Regions from separate parts of the Homo sapiens genome. Here region 1 is linked to region 2. Evidence: promoter capture Hi-C in 16 types of primary human blood cells and fetal thymus (Javierre and others, 2016). All regions are on one chromosome and are shown on one strand. The core of a region is centred on a gene start or on the middle of the fragment in contact, and the rest is flanking DNA. Distances in the headings are between cores, read along the strand shown.

Region 1 (5,653 bases), core at 2,325-4,824, 220 kb after region 2:
ATCTAAGTTTTAAAAGACCTTTTCTACTACAACCCTAATATAGAGCCACTTTGAGGCCTAATATGACACTGAGGAATCAGATAACATGCAAATGCAGTTCCAGAAACCTTGCTGAGTAGCACAATCTTTACCGTATGTTGTCCTGAAGAGGTGGCACATGAGTTAAACCAGGATATACTGAAATTCCTTTTCACCTGCCCATTTCTCCAAAGGCTCCTAGCCAATACTCAAAAATCTCTCTTAGGCCTGGCGTGGTGGCTCACACCTGTAATCCCAGCAATTTGGGAGGCTGAGTGAGAGGATCGTTTGAGCCCAGGAGTTAAAGACCAGCTTGGGCAACACAGGGAGACTCTGTCTCCATAAAAAAATAAAATTAAAATTAAAAATGGCCCTCTCACCCATTGTTTATGACCAATGACCCTTCTCACTGTGCATAGCCCTCTGGAAGATACAGTTTAGTCAACCACTCCAATTACTTTTTTTCTGCCTGGGGAAATTTCAGGGAAAAACTTACTCATACTGATATATTAAGAAACTTTTACTTCTCAATTATCAATTTTCCCACTTTCCAATTTTCACAGAACCAATGTTACAACCATAGGCTAACATGAACTATTCCAGCGAAAATTAATAAAACTAGATAGTTTAGTGTGCTTTTATGTCTTTGCACCAGGGCAATGAAGAACAATCTTCTGTGTACATAATGAGTCACTCTGCAGTTTGAATTCTGAATAGTCTCTAGGGATCTAGTAATGGCAGAGGTTAAAAGAAGAAACATTATATGAAGTCTAAAACTGTTTTCTTGGTTGTGACAAACTTTTTCAAAATTCTGCATGCTTCAAGGTGACATGCGGTGTCTTCCATAGAGAGTAGCTTGAGAGAAAAACATTCAAAAATAGGAAATGGTGGTAACAATTTATTTTCTGTAGCTGAATGAGGCCTCGCCAAGTGCAGATGTGAAATACACTAGTAATGTATAATAAATAATACTGACCACAATAACGATTTGGATTATCGGTAACTTGCACTGGTTAGTGTCCCTCACAGATGGAGACCATTCCAAAAGCGCAAAGTCCTTATGGGCATCCCATACACTTAACGTCTAAATGCTGACCCAACAGGAGTGAAATGAGAAAGTAAAAAATAAACACAGAAAGAAATACAACTACCCATCATTTCTTTAGAAATGAACAAAAACAAGCTATAAAGGAAAAGATTTTAAAAGTAACACCATTTGACCCAGTAATCCCATTATATGATTATAAATCATTCTACTATAAAGGCACATGTACCTGTATGTTTATGCGGCACTGTTCACAATAGCAAAGACTTGGAACCAACCCAAATGTCCATCAATGATAGACTGGATAAAGAAAATGTGGCACATATACACCATGGAATACTATGCAGCCATAAAAAAAAAGGATGAGTTCATGTCCTTTGCAGGGACATGGATGAAGCTGGAAACCATCATTCTCAGCAAACTAACAGGAACAGAAACCAAACAACACATGTTCCCACTCATAAGTAGGAGTTGAACAATGAGAACATGTGGTCACAGGGAGGGGAACAACAACATACACCGAGGCATGTCAGGGGGTGGGGAACTAGGGGAGGAATAGCATTAGGAGAAATACCTAATCTAGATGGTGGGTTGATGGGTGCAGCAAACCACCATGGCACTTGTATACCTATGTAACAAACCTGCATGTTCTGCACATGTATCCCAGAACTTAAAGTATAATAATAAAAAAAAATTTTTTTTAAAGTAACACAAGAGAACTCCACAGGCTTTTCCAATTGAGTATTTCTCTCCAGTACTGAAGTTACCAACTTTGGGAAATATTCCGTAGTTTCCCCAAACAGGTCAATGTCCTCTCCTCTCACTCCTCTCAGTTCTCTTCACCTCATCTATGGACAGACTAGTAAGGAGTCTACTAATCTAAGAGCCCTGGGAAGCTCTGAGAAGATCAGTAATCCAATTTAGTTCAGCAGATGTTTGTGAGCACTTACTACATGTAAAACATGGCAGGCACTACAGGAATATTAGGAGGAAAAAGGTGCAGCCTTTATGCTTTCAGACCAGTGGGTAAGACGACAAAAATTCCAAAAAGGTATAAAAGCAGAGCACAGGAAGGACCATTAAAGAGTCCATAAGAGTAGATATAATGGGGTTCAAAGCAAGAAGTGGAAGGAAACCCTTATTGGTGGAGCACCCTCCCTGGGACAGGCACTGAACCAAACACTAAATCCTCAAAACAGTTCTGCAAATGCAGAGTGGGGCTTTTGTTTCTTTTGTTTTTGTGCTTTATAGATGAAGGAAAAAGGCTTAGTTAGGGAGGGTCAATCTCAGATATTTTTGGTTCCAAGGCATATGCTCCTTTAACCACATCATGCTACCTCCCAGGAGAGATAACATCAGATGCTAGGGTGGGGAGAAGCACGGATATACCTCACAGAACATAATGTATGGTAGGCAGGGCTCAGAAGCTCCAATACTGTGTTTAGCTGAGCTGGGTAAAGGCACCAAGTTCCTGATGGTGAGAGGACCACGCATAGGAACACAGAGACCAGAAAGTACACTTGGACTTGGCTAAAGCACAAAATACGAGTAGGGATGGAGCTGGAGGTAAGGTCAGAGCAACATGCTTAGAATGAGAAGTCTGTTCTTAATTCGGATGTGAACAAGGAACAATCAAACAGAATTATGAATAGGGTTACATTTTAGAACAGTTAATCTGGGAACAGTGTATGCCCAAGGCTAATGTTAACCCATACAATACTTTTGTGAGAATTAGACAAAAGAATCTCTCTGGGCAAACACAGCCCCAAGAGTAGAAGCCACGGTGAACAGGGAGAGACTTTGCATGAATTTGTCAAGGTGGCCATGCACAGCACACTTGTGCTATGAAGAACCTGCACTCTATGGGGAGAGGCCCTGGACAGAGCCGTGTTTCTCAAACTTGATAATCTGCAAAACTGGGATTCCAAGATCCCAAGTTAAGATGCTGACTTTGGAAGTAAAATGCCAAGGCTGTAGAAGATCATTTGGGGCCAATACAAGTGTCAATACAAGAACCCAAGTGGGCCCTTAAATCCCATGTCAGTACTGGGTCTTCCAGATCCAGAATGTATTTAAATTAAAAAAAAAAAATCAAAACATTTTAAAAGTTCTTCACACAGAACACTCGAACTGTGAGGCTCCATCTGTAGGTCCCAGCTGGAAACTACAGGTATGAATATGGTTTTCAAATAGAATGGGACCACTTCTTTAAGGGTATTTGTAAATGAAGAAGCAGGCATTTTTGATAATCAGAATGGGTGAGTCAGGGGCTAATGTCATGTGGAGGACAGTTGCCAGGGATGCTAAATATGTGGAATAGTCTTGACAGTTATCTCACCAAGATGCCCCATTAGCCTGTAAGCTTCATAAGGGATTGACCGGGTCTGTCTTCTACTCTAGCACTGAGAAAGTATGGCAAAGCCTGGTTAGGTAGGAATGATTAATGAATGGGGAGAGAAAAGAAGTAGGATGACCAATTTAGGGGTTACTACAGAAGCAAAAGTGAGAAGTCTAAGTGAGGGTGGTTGCAGGGAAATGGAAACATCTTGCAGAGGTATAAGGCACATAGACTGGCTACTGACAGCAGGCTCTTTAGAGCACGAGGGTGCCCGGCTGAGGGCAGAGGGAAACTCAAATTGGGCTTCAGGTTTCTAAGCTTACAGGAGAGAATGGTGCCATTAACAAGTAACAGAAACAGTGGTGGTAGATATAAATTACCTTGGAAACACACTCTAAGGAGTCATATGAACCAGATGGCCAAATTTAAGTAGAACAAGAGAATTAGTTTCTCCAAAAAGACTAAAAACAAGGAAAACCCACCATCCTTCCATTACCTTTTGGCCATTCACTACATAGACAAGTGGTCAAATACCATTTGTTTAACCTAAGAAATCTCTGGTTTTTCCTTGGCAACTGTACATGACCCAAGAGAATTAGCCAACCTGCCTATTAGAGCCGTTCCAAAATCAGTAGCTGAAAAGAGCTTTTGTCAAGATCTGTGCAGACATCTCCCCCTGGTGGTTACAAGAATCCAAGATTCACTCATTTTAACTGGGGCTTTTATCTCAGCGACTCTCTCATCTGGCTCCCAATTCTGGCCATTTGATTTTCTCTCAAGATCCGCTATAGTGTTTTATAACAATGCTATCAGTTGTACTATCTGGTAGCACACTTCAGAAACATGAAATGAAAGATAAATGGATGTTGTTACCCACTGCCATGACCCACTGTGGTCTCAGGATTTCTTTGGCTTAATAATCAGAAGAGTGGAGTTTGGGGCCCAACTGCCCAATTTTAGGTCCATAACCCGGATTCTGTTTCTGCATCAGTGACATAAAAGAATTGGACTGGATGATTATTAAAGTTGCTTCCAACTCTTCTACATTCTGCGGTTTCCAAAAGACGCCCAAGGAAAGGTATGTTTCCAATAGTTCCTTTATTTTCAGCCTATCAAATAATCTTTGCCAACGACAAAGTCATTTATTAATTGCCACAGGATGATCACTTTCTGATTCTTCTTGTTCCCCAGAAGGAATACTGTAAACAAGGATACTAATTAGAAGGACTCTTAAAACAGACTAGTTTTCAAGAAACATGAGCATGGTATATGGATTTCTCCACCAACAGGCAAATTCCTCACTTTTAAGATCTGCCAAACATGCATTTCTGCATTGAAAGAAGGTTTGGAAAATGTTCCTTACCGTTCCACATATGCCTTGTCCAGATTGTTTAAGCCTATTGCGGGGCTTCTGAGTTGATTCTGCACAGACACAAGATCGTTGCTTTCCAAGGCCTGGTTTAGTAAAGCAACAGCAGACAACATTTCCACAGCAATCAAAAGCTCCTCGTGGGCCAAGTAGTTCTGTTGGAAAACATATGGCAACATAAGCTCCCCACACAACACACCTCATGTGCATGATGGAGGTTTACAATGCACATTTCAACAAACAACAAAAAGTCAAAGAACTTGATAGCTCAGCAGAAAGAGGAGTCGTGGCCACCTGCTTTCCACTGGCTTTAAGAACAGGTATATGGCTCCTGGGCTTTCATTAGATGATCATTTTTTGGGACTGGGTTGATTACAATGAAAAGTTACGATTCCACAAATATCTGCATTCCCATTGCTGATCCCTACTCCTAGCTATACTGGTTGCTTAAAGGCTCAGTCCAGCCATATAATTAAGCCAAGGACTAGATAACATTGTCACTGACTGAGAGTGCCAGGTAACATTTTAGCACAGCTAACGATTTCCAGTTTGAATTAAGGGTTAAGGGAAGGTTGGGAGAATTTCACTGAAAAGTTATAATCTGAAGCACAAAGCAAGGTCTTCAAACCAAGACTACTGATTTAATTCAAAAAAAGTTAAAGTGACATTTTCATAAATTTTAAAATAGAAATTTTAAAATACACTACCAGGTCAAGATATTTGAAGAAATCTGAGGTGATCTTTTGGTAAAGCAAGTAAAGCTCTCCAGGTTTTTTTGTTTGGTTTGGTTTGCTTTATTTTTATTATTATTATTTTTTGAGATGGAGTTTGGCTCTTGTTGCCCAGGCTGGGGTGCAATGGCACGATCTAGGCTCACTGCAGC
Region 2 (5,725 bases), core at 1,194-3,693:
TAAGTAAGTGGCAGAGAGAAGCTGACTGAAATGAACACCACATGGACCAGCCAGGGTACTCTGGGCAAGACTCCTCACTTCATTCATTTGCTATTTACTGAGGTCCCGTAGGTGATGAGACTATGCTAGACGTGATGGAAAGGATGGTAGGGCCCCCTGCCTCCAGGAGTTAACGATGCAGTGAGGACACATATTAAGCATGTTTACCCAAATAATTATCAATTACTATTGTAAAGGGAAAGAGAAGCCCTGATTTCCAAGTGTTTTCCTTGCCTTGCCTCCTCAATTCAGTGTCCTTCACCTGTACCCTGAGAAGGTTGTGATCTCGGCTGAGTTCGTTTCTATGAGGCAGTCTTTTGGAGTGAGGCTTTGGGAAGAAAATCAAACCCCAAATCGGCCCTGCAGCCACCTGAGGGGCACGCAGAAGGACCGGCTAAAAAGCGAGTGAGCAAAGACCCACCCTGAGGGCAGAAAAGCTTTGCTAACACTGTATTTCTTATTAAAATCAATTTAGTTTTAAGGTGGGAGGAAAGCTCCATCTGCCTAAATCAATTGTCAGTGTTACTTCACTAACCCTTTGGGAAAGTTACTTTGCAAGGGAATAAAAGTATGGTGGGGGGAGGATGAGGAACAAGGTGCAATATTAAGTGGCTATAGTTAACAAGTAACCTGATTTTTCCTTATTGTTAAATCAAGTTCGCCTTATAATCCAGGGATCTCCCAATCCCCCAAGAGTAGTAAACAAGAACAAGACAAATAATCGGGGCATGCTTCCTACAGGGATCTCTGAATCATAAAGATGTTGAATCAGCTATACCAACATGTATTTTTTTAAAGTTTGCACATACTAACCTTTGCTCCTGAATTTTAAGTTTCCAACTTTAAAGGACATAGAGGAGAGGTGTCCATTACAGTTTTCAATACTTCCTGGAACTAAATGCCTTTATTCTGATGCTGATTAAGAAAAAAAAATATACCAGCGGTGCACAGTTTTCAAGCTTACACCATTAACACCCTTTTCCCTAACTGCAGAGGGAAAAGAATCACATTCTTCCATCTAATTCCAACCCACTGTGACTTGCTCTTTTACTTCGTCTTTATGAAGAGGAGGATAAAAGTGAGAAATGCGCATTTCTGAGGGAAATTAAAAGCTCCCTTTGCTACCCAGGCTGCCCCAAACAGAGGGGCCTCGGTTAGGATCACAGTGGCGCGATCGCAGGTCAAACATCCCCCACGGCCACAGCGAGGCCTGCTGGGCCCGGAAGAACACACTCCCAGCAATACAAGTTCGAGCACACCCGGAGCAGCACATCCAAGGAACGCGACGGCCGGGCGCAAGTGCTGCTCTGTTCCCAGGCCAGCCAGCCTCTGGCCTGCAGACCTGGGTGGCAGCCAGTGGCCGCTCCGGGTGGCACACTAGGAAAGTCCCGGAACCCCAGGCCCAGAGGGTCAACTGGTCAAATATAAGGCAGGGTCCAAAAAGTTCCGCTCGTAAATCCTCGTGGCGCCCAACGGGCCTGAGCGCTCATTACCACCAGAACCCATCAGGGACCGGCCCTGACTTTCATACCCCGGGCCTTCCACTGTGGGTGCCAGGAGCAGCGGGACCCGGGTGGGTCTCGAACGCAGGGGCCAGAACCCGAAGAAAGGCTTCCAGCAGTTGGAGAGGGACGCAAAAAACAACCTAGAAGGCTCCCGGGCCGCGGGTTCCCACCCACTCCGCCCTGCCCTGCGCAATCAGCTCGCTAACCCCACCGGCCCCGCGGGGCCAGCGGAGGAAGTCTCCGGAGTTGGCAAAAAGCTCTTAATGACTTAGTGTTTACAAAGCAACCAAGCCCGGGGAGGGGACTAGGTCCTCTGCGTACCCTTTAGACACAGCTACTCCTTCCTTCCCTCCCTTTCCCCGAACCCACGCTGGGGCCTGGAGGTGCCCAGCATGACAGCCTCTACGGGAAGTGGGGTCTTTGGGGAAATCTCTGCCTCTGCCCGGCTCCGCTGACTTCAGCTGCTCCCGCATGTCCCACCTGGGTGCCTCCTTGGCGCAGAGACCTCACATCAAAGCCACCAAGGGGAGGCTAAGGGATTCGTAGAGATGGGTGCCGGCAGCAGAACAGCCTTCGCACACCTGCCCGGATCCCACCGTCTGCCCAGCGTGCCCAGGACCCCAGCTCCTCAGAGATAAGAGCCCTCCTTGGCCAGGTTTCTCACCTTGGATGGTGCCACTGCAGGAGAGAGAGGCTGCTAGCAGGATGGCGGCCCCCAGCAGCCACGCCGCGCTGGGGCTCCGCATCCTCCTGGAAGCCCCGACGCCGGGCGCGCGGGGAATCCGCCGCCGCCGATTCGAAACTCAGAGCTCCACTGGACGCACCGAGAGAAAGTCAGCCTCTCACCTGCCCCGAATCGGAGCCTCTGCTGCGCGCCTCCCCAGGGCGGGTTAGGTTTCAGGGAAACCGAAGGAGCAGCGTACTCACCTGCGGGAGGCCACGCCCCGGGACCGGAACGCGCGCCCTGGTCCCGCCCCCGGCCCCCTTCCCTGCGCAGCTGCGCCCTCCGCTTCCCGGACTCGCGCCAGGTCCCTTAGACTGCGGGAGCCGCCTGCGGGCGGGGTTGAGCGCATGAGGTGTCTGCTTTGGAATGCAAATAGCAGGAGCGCTGGGACCACGGGTTAATCCCTGCCTAGGCTATACCGCGAACTACCTTTAATCTTTACTTACTCCTAGAGAAGCGGGTCGTCGGTCTCCCTTGCCTTTCCTGACTGTGGGAAAGCCACGATTCGTACTCACTGCAATTGTGGTTGGTAACTGATACAGACAGGGCTTCCCGGTGCGGTGGACCCTGCAGGAGGAGGGATGCGTTTTTTATTGTAGAGGCAGGTGGGCAACTGCGGACATCACGAAAGCGGTGGGGAGCACAAGAGGCGGGGCGGGAAAGAAGACATGGAATGGCTACTTTCAGCGCCAAGTGCCAAAGCTTTAGAGAATTATCTTGCTTAATCCCCATAACAACCAGCGCAATAAGTATGATTATTCTTCCCATTTTACAGACGAGGAAAGTGAGCTTAGAAAGACCAGATAAATTGGCCAGAGTTACACGACTTATAAACACAGTGTATAAATGTTTATCACATTTCAACTCCAGTATAAGACTATCACTGTCTTCTATTCATCGCTGCACTATAAATGCGTCCACCAGGGCTCCTCTGCATTGGGATCCCATAGGCTAAATAAATACAAAAGCAGATAGAAGGGGTGGGAGAAGAGAAGTGTGGGGTTGGGGATGAGTGCATGAGGGTTGGCATCATATTGGTAATGTCTTACTTTTTGTTTTTGAGACGGAGTCTCGCTCTGTCTCCCAGGCTGGAGTGCAGTGGCGTGATCTCGGCTCACTGCAAACTTTGTCTCCTGGGTTCAAGCAATTCTCTGGCCGCAGCCTCCCGAGTAGCTGGAGTTACAGGCGTGCACCACATCTGGCTAATTTTTGTATTTTTAGTAGAGGCGGGGTTTCACCATGTTGGTCTGGCTAGTCTCGAACTCCTGACCTCGTGATCAGCCCACCTCCGCCTCCCAAAGTGCTGCGATTACAGGCGTGAGCCACCGCACCCAGCATGTCTTACTTTTTATTTGCTTTTTAAAAGATTGAATAAAACAAAGTCTACTGTTACCCATTTAAACTATTGGTACCAGAAGAGCACAGAAGAGAGACATAGGTATTTTCAAATATTTAAAGGATTCGCTTGTAGAAGAGGATTTAGATGTGTTTTGAGTTGCTCCAGAGAGCAAAAATTGGTGGAAGCCACAGTGGGGTTTAATTTCAGCTCAATGTATAAAGAAATTTTCTTTATTTTTTATTTTAATTTCTATTAGAAAATAGAAGTGGGGTCTCCCTATCTTGTCCAGTCTGGTCTGGAACTCCTGGCTTCATGTGATCCTCCCCACTCAGCCTCCCAAAGTGCTGGGATTACAGGAATGAGCCACCACACCCGGACAGGCTTCTCCCCTTGTTGACATCTGTGTGATCCCAAGTTTACTTATCCTCTCTAAGCTTTCTTATAATATATATATATATACACACACACGTGGTTTAAAGGTTTATAGGTGTCTGTCTGAGGATAAAATAGTGACTAGTGACTGGGTTTGATACATGGTAGAAGCTCAATAAATATTTTTTGTTTATTTCCTTTCTCTGAGGAGTCTTCATACTCCACCTGCACCCCAGCTCTCACCTCAGCCCATGCCCACTTTTCCTCCCAGGAAAAGCTGACTTCTAGAAGCAGAACAGGAACCTTTGACATCCTGAACAGCGGACAGCTCTCCTGATAGGGATCAGGCCATTCCTGAAGGTCCCTCCCCAGGGGAGATAACTGATTCCTAAGATGTCCCTTCAAACTTTTCAAGCATCCATTTCCTCATCTGTAGCTTATTAATATTACATCTATCATCTGGGAATGATACTAGTACCTCTCTCGTAGGGTGGTTGTGAGGATTCACTTTGCTAAATGTCCATAAAGCACTTCTTAGTACCGTTTCTGGTATATAGTAAGCACCTAAGAAATGGGAACTGCTATAGAATGACTGCCTTTAAGGTGGAATCTTCCTCTTTCAGAGAACAATACATCAGGGTCCAGCTGCTTTCGATTTAAATTTTCACTGTATTTTATGGGAATATGCCTTGAATCATCACAATTTCCAATAAAAGACTTTATTGAACAATGCTATGAGTTAATTATCTCAAAAATGTGGTTTCTTCCCCCAGCCTGACTAAATGAACTAAACTCACTTGAGTCAGTTTGCAGGTGTTTTTCTGTAATTTTGGGAGTATAGTATTTGTTTTTCAGGTGTTGATGACTCCTTCGCCCTGAAGGGATTGGAGTATTGTATGGCTGTGTGGAACAGTACAAAGAAATGACCACAGGCAACTAGACTGCCTGGCTTCCAGAGATTAGGAACCTTCTGCAATCTTCCACCACCTACAATTCCAAAGAGGAGTTTAGACATTGAGGGAAAAGGTATTTCATTCAAATAATTTGTCAAACTCTTCCTGGAGAAACAAAGTCCCAAGTTACTGGGTCCTAATCAAATATAGTTGGAGAAAGTTACACTCATTTATTCACTGATTCATTGAGCACTCACTCTGGACAAGGTTAGTAATGAAATCCACATGGTAAGTCCTATGGTCCTCTTTCAGTCCTTTCTCAGTTACTCAGCCTAGCTGTAGAATTGGACACGATTGATTTCTCCCTCTTTCTGGAATGCTCTATTCACTTGGCTTCCAGGCCCACTCTTCTCTTGATTCTCCATCTGTCGCATTAGCAACTCAGAAGTGGGTTCTTTGCTAGTTCCCACCTACCCTCCTGACCACTATATTCTGGAGTGAGTGCCCCTAGCTTAGTCTTTGGACTTCTTTTCTTTTTTTTTTTTTTGAGACAGGATTTTACTCTGCTGCCCAGGCTGGAGTGCAGTGGCACGATCATGGCTCACTGCAGCCTCAACCTCCCAGGCTTAAGCAATCCTCTCACCTCAGGCCCTGAGTAGCTGGGACTACAGGCACACACCACCAGGCCTGGCTAATACTTTTTTATTTCTTGTAGAGACAGGTTCTCACTATGTTGCCCAGGCTGGTCTTGAACACCTGGGCTCAAGCAATCCTCCCACCTTGGATTCCCAAACTGTTGGGATTACAGGCATGAGCCACTGCGCCCAGCAGACTTCTTTTCTTCTCAAAGTAT

Evidence for each region. Contacts are between HindIII fragments. The CHiCAGO score rates a contact against its expected background, and 5 or more counts as called.
Region 1: a fragment that was not itself captured here is called in contact with the fragment with the promoter of F2RL1 in region 2 in 1 of 17 cell types (endothelial precursors); the score reaches 5.2 in endothelial precursors.

The regions. Positions count from the first base shown.
Region 1 is chr5:76,600,084-76,605,736 of GRCh38, reverse strand. It overlaps IQGAP2 (IQ motif containing GTPase activating protein 2), which reads right to left. Exons shown (of 36, transcript NM_006633.5): 11 at 4,765-4,925. Among named protein-coding and RNA genes, the nearest start is that of F2RL2, 20 kb to the left of the region's middle. The HindIII fragment of the contact is 294 bases long and covers 3,428-3,721 here.
Region 2 is chr5:76,815,748-76,821,472 of GRCh38, reverse strand. F2RL1 (F2R like trypsin receptor 1) reads right to left here and starts at 2,443. Exons shown (of 2, transcript NM_005242.6): 1 at 2,209-2,443. The coding sequence starts at 2,290. RefSeq lists enhancers at 1,492-2,109, 2,110-2,727 and a silencer at 2,415-2,709. The HindIII fragment of the contact is 1,972 bases long and covers 1,001-2,972 here.